Regions from separate parts of the Homo sapiens genome. Here region 1 is linked to region 2. Evidence: promoter capture Hi-C in 16 types of primary human blood cells and fetal thymus (Javierre and others, 2016). All regions are on one chromosome and are shown on one strand. The core of a region is centred on a gene start or on the middle of the fragment in contact, and the rest is flanking DNA. Distances in the headings are between cores, read along the strand shown. Region 1 overlaps COPG2 (coat protein complex I subunit gamma 2). Region 2 holds the start of CPA2 (carboxypeptidase A2).

The links. Contacts are between HindIII fragments. The CHiCAGO score rates a contact against its expected background, and 5 or more counts as called.
Region 1: a fragment that was not itself captured here is called in contact with the fragment with the promoter of CPA2 in region 2 in 5 of 17 cell types (M0 macrophages, M2 macrophages, endothelial precursors and 2 more); the score reaches 7.5 in M0 macrophages.

The regions. Positions count from the first base shown.
Region 1 is chr7:130,617,060-130,619,856 of GRCh38, reverse strand. It overlaps COPG2 (coat protein complex I subunit gamma 2), which reads left to right. Exons shown (of 24, transcript NM_012133.6): 6 at 2,792-2,797. Among named protein-coding and RNA genes, the nearest start is that of COPG2, 50 kb to the left of the region's middle. The HindIII fragment of the contact is 699 bases long and covers 951-1,649 here.
Region 2 is chr7:130,265,395-130,268,126 of GRCh38, reverse strand. It overlaps CPA2 (carboxypeptidase A2), which reads right to left and starts at 1,264. Exons shown (of 11, transcript NM_001869.3): 1 at 1,175-1,264. The coding sequence starts at 1,245. The HindIII fragment of the contact is 5,023 bases long and covers 1-2,556 here.

The DNA.
Region 1 (2,797 bases), core at 51-2,550, 350 kb before region 2:
TGCAAAGTTTTAAGAAACAGAACATGTGATACAAGAATAATACAGCTAAGCGAATTGTCATTCAAGTACAGGGACAACAAGCAGACTTCCACACTGGAAAGAATTCAGGGACCATAACACCTGTGAGCTTTTCTTGAAAAATAAAATTAAGCATTGAAGTTATATTAAATCAAAAGAGTGAATTCTGTAATAGAGGGGCTACAGGAAATGAATTACCAGTGAGCATTGAATGTATTCAATTATAGAAGTAGGGTTAAACTACTGTAGAAATTATGATTAAAGATAGAATGTAAATGTTATAATCCATGATAATACAAAAAGAATAATACTAACAAAAATTTGGAGATACACGGGAGGGCAGATGAGAGAGGAGAAAGCTTACGTGCATTAATTTTTTTGCTTTCATAGCTTAACTCTTTTATCTAAAGTTTTATGGCAGCGACAAAAAGAACTAGAATGTAAATCTCCCATATTTCAGAGAGAAAACACATTCACTTAGGAAAACAAAAGACACTCTTACATCTGTATTGTCCAATAAGATAGCCATTAGATACATATGGCTATTATAGTGAACATTAATTGAACTTTTGTAAAATTGAAAATTCAGTTCATTAGTCACACTAGCTATATTTCAAGTGCTCATTAGACACATTTAGCTTGTGGCTACTATGCTGAATGATGGAACATTTTCCATCATTGAAAAAAGTTCTGTTGGATAACACTGCCTTATAGGAAACAAAGAAAGTACTAAAAATAGAGATGTAACACAAAACAAATTCATAGAATTAACACCAGACATTGCCTATTAAAAGAAATACAGATTAGTTTAAAAATAAAATACAGCTAACTATATGCTACATATTGTGATGTATATAAAACAAGGCAAAGCAAAATTTGAATATAAAAGGAGGGGTGAAAGCATATAAGGCAAACACTACTGAAAGGAAGCTTGGGTGAAGGTATTAATAATTAGAAAATTGAATTAAATGCAAAAAGTTTTGAAGGAGACAAGAATGAGGTACTTTATCCAAAATGAGGAGGAACTGTCATGAATTATTTATTAATGTAACACCAAAGTACATAAGCCAAAAATCACAAAAAATGTAAATAGAAACAAAATAGTATCAGCCTTTGTTTTAAAAAGAAGGAAAAACCTAAGGGTAAAAAAGATATGAATAATATACTTGATACAGATTGATTAATACTTATGAAAACCTTACCTTTATAATAGAAAAGTCACCTTTATAAGTATTCATGGAACACTTACAAATTATTCAGCATTCAGCCCCTGAAAACCTGTTAATTCTAGAATGTGGAAATATAGTAGAGACTTATTCTGTCATTACAATGCAATCAAATGATACATTTATTTTGAGAAGAAAATGAACAGATAGTACCCAGATATGTCAAAATGGAAAAATAAAAAGAAAACCTCAACTTTTGGGACAGTATATAAGTAAAAATTGAAATTACAGAATATTTTTAAAATCTAATGATGAAAACCTATGAGTTCAACTAAAGCTATGGTCAGAGGAAAATTCATAGTCCTTGGCACTTAAATTACTGAACGAGTGTATTGTTCAGGGCTCCCCATTGCTGGCAGTAGAATCTAGTTCATAGATCCTCTTGGAAATCCGGAAAACCAAGCTTGCATCTGACAGAGCCAGAAAGAGTGCATCAGGGAAAAATGCCCACGCTACAAAATTTTTTAAGTGCAGGACACTTCCAAAAAAAGTCTTTTTTTTTTTTTTTTTTTGAGACAGGGTCTCACTCTGTCACCCAGGTTGGAGTACAGTGGTGCCATCTCAGCTCACTGCAACCTCTGCCTCCTGGGTTCAAGCAGTCCTCCCACCTCAACCTCCCAAGTAGCTGAGACTACAGGCACACCCCACAACACCAGTCTAATTTTTGTATTATCTGTAGAGATGGGGTTTAGTCATGTTTCCCAGGCTGGTCTTGCACTCCTGAGCTCAAGTAATCCTCCCACCTTGACCTCCCAAAGTGCTGGGATTACAGACATGAGCCACCACACCTGGCCAAATTGCTTTCCTAATTGAAAAAGAAATGAAGGACTATCAGTCAAAACTTCTTCCTCTTGGTTTCCTAATGGAGGGAGTCAGAGTTGTAGACCATTTTGGATTATGTGAGAGGAGTTGAGGAAGTGGAGAGATTGATAGCAGTAGTATAAATGCATGGGGAGCTAAAGAAGGGAGGGTAAAAGGTTAAAAACCTCTTTAAAGCATGGACATGGAATTTTGTAGCTAGTTCACACCTCTGCCTGTTTTTGAAGCTCAGCAGAAAGGTCTGAAGCCATTGATAATTTTAGAAAGCCATGCCAAAGAGAGATACCTCTTGAGTTAATTATTTTTGTTAATTTATTTTTAAAAGTTATGTCTAGTCTGATGGGATTTTAGGATTTGGGGGTATGTCAGACTAGGACGCTTTATACCATTGTCCTTAGTTTATCTTTTATGCTAATTATCAGTATCTAAAATTATGGGGAAGGGGTTGTTTTGTTTACGTGATTATCTTTCTTCCTCCCAGAATGATAAGTTCCATGAAGGCAAAGGACTTTTTGCTTTTTACTAATTTTGCTCATTGCTTTATTCTTGAATTAGAACAGTCTTCTACGCAGTAGTCTTAGCACATATACAAAGAATATGCTCCATAAATATTTGTTGAATTAGTAGCTGCATTAAGATAATTATGGGACAATTGGAAATTGGCTAGGGGTGAACTCCATGGGAGAGATTTTAATTGATCTTATGTTAACCAATTTGATTTTTCTTAGTCTGAC
Region 2 (2,732 bases), core at 15-2,514:
AATACAATGAGCCATGTACAGGGACCAGAATATGGGTCTTCTGAAACCAAGCTCCATGCAATTTCCTACGAACTCCAGTGGAATACAGAAGTGATGGAATGTGAGCTCTTCGAGGCTCACCTGCCACAAATGGTCTGAAAATTCTTCCATTTAAGTCTCATTATTTTCGGTTAATGCATGGACTCCCAGGAGTCCTCCTTTAAAATGGGAAGGCACTGAGAAAAGTAATACAACAGGGTCATATTTCCTGGTGTGTGTTCTAAAGAATAGTAGTTCTTTGAGTTACTCAGTGAAAGAAAGAAAGAAAGAAAGAAAGAAAGAAAGAAAGAAAGAAAGAAAGAAAGAAAGAAAGAGAAAGAAAGAAAGAAAGAGAAAGAGAAAGAAAGAAAGGGCAAGCTGGGAGCAGTAGGTAGTTTATGATTAAAAAAAAGAGTACATGCTGCAACCTAGATCCCCTCTTATAGATTTATAATGCACACTGATTTAGCCAAGGCTCCTAGAAATCCTATAGTTTGTTTAATCCTCTGATTCCCACATTTATTTGACCAGTGGCTTTTTGGGACCAAACTTATTTGATTGCTTTCTTAGCTCCCTGGACCACTCTTCAAAAAATGCTGCCTGAAACCCTTCATAGAATCATGAAGCAAAGTACTTTGGAGCAAAGATGAGTCCTCCAAAGCCAGGAGAGGAGGAGTTGAGCTGAAATCTATAGCCCTGGCCTTTCTACTTCATGAGGTTCCACCACCTAGGTGCTGAATCTAAAGATCGGGGGTTAGGGCACAAGGGCTAACGTGGATGGTAAAGCCCAGAAGAGCAGGAGGAGGTGGGAGAGTAGCATTGACACCCGCTGAGTTGCCTGGAACAAATGGCCACACAGCTGTATTTTCCCTGATGTCTATCATCCCTACAGTCTGATCACTGGAGGGAAAAATGAGTAAGGACAGAGAGAAATAGGGTTATGTGTGTTCAGTTTTCACTTTTGTCTTTTCCTTTAAATGTCATTCACCTCCTTTTTGATCATCCACTCCTTTTTTTCACACTATTGACTTATCCCCAAATCTAAGAGAACTTCTCTGAAAACACTGAACACTTATACCCATTTACTCTGTAACAATCAAAGCCTCCATCAATCAGGTAAGTAAAATTCAAAGAAGCACCAGAAAGCATAACTTACCCCACAAATGTTTCTAGACAGTAGATATGCCCAAAAAGGGCACCAAAAAACAGGATCAACCTCATGGCCATGGGTTTTCCTGGAGTCCAGAATTCAGAGTCCTTCCTGAACTTTATTTGTAGGGATGGCAGCTGAGGGTGATCTGCTGGCCTTCTGAGAACTCACGTGAATTCCCACATGGGAAAATTCCCACCTGCATGTGAAATTCTCAAGGTTGTAGACATCCACCTGTGTGATATCACCAATGTGTACATGTTCCATTCCTAGGATAAGATAACAAACTTTGATGGAAAGAGAACAAAATTGCTAGAGCATACCAAGGGCAATATAGTTATGATTGAGACCATAAAACGCCACTAGCTACCCTGTGATAGAAGCCAGATTAATAGACCTAGAGGTTAAAGTCTTTTCTGGGTCTCTGACACACACACAAAAAAAAGGCCAGAGCATTTATAGTAATTACTCAGGCATCCTGTCTATCACATTCCATTAGTTTGCTCATTTGTTTATTTTTATAATGTTTACCTTGAAACACTGCAGTCACTCAGTCCACATCTGCTGAGTGTCCCTGTAGATGTGGCCCATTCCAATCCTCACTCTACATTAAAACAAAACAGAAGGCCTTTTAATATTCAATTTTGCACTTTCTCGAAAGTGATCCATCTGCATTTGCACCAAATTGATATCCCTCTTTCTGTGCTTTTTCCCAAAATGAAAATGTCTTTCTGATGACATTTCCTATAACAAGCAACAATGAAGTTGCTTGTTATAAAAAGTGTGAATTAAAAGAAAGTGTTTTCTTTAACCATCAATAATTCTTCCATCCAAAGAAAACCATTTGGCATATGTCTTTCCAAATTTCTTTCTCTGCTTTCGAGTTTTTTTCTTAAACAAAGATTAGACCATATCACGTATACTGTTCTTTAAACAAAGGTGATCTTTTCTTGTTCATAAACATAGATCTACATTAATCTGACTTTGTTCTTCATTGCTTAAGAAGAAAATATAACTGCTTATTTTTAGAAACCATAGTTTATTTAATTTTAGTTGTTCATACACGTTATATTAAGCCTAGAAAGCCTCAACCACAACAAGCAGCAAGGAAATTTTCGTCTGTCCTTTGTGTGTCAAATTTATCAGCACACACTTTAAATCTCTGGGTTTGCATTCTCAAATATCTGCTTTAAGGGGAAAGGTATATACACAGTGTTTCTGATTTTAAGAATGACTGGATTAACTTGGTTTTTCATTCTCCTGGGAGTCAGAGAGAAGACAGAAACCAAAAGGCAGAGGCCATAATTCATCCTCATGTCTCCAGCACCTATCAAATAAACAGTAGTTCAATAAACTGGAAGTATGTACTTGGAGAATCAATAAAAGCTTCCTGGAAAAAATCAAGTTTCAGGCTGGGCTCAGTGGCTCACGCCTGTAATCCCAGCACTTTGGGAGGCCAAGGCAGGTGGATCACGAGGTCAGGAGATCGAGACCATCCTGGCTAGCATGGTGAAACTCCGTCTCTACTAAAAATACAAAAAGTTAGCCGGGTGTGGTGGCGGGA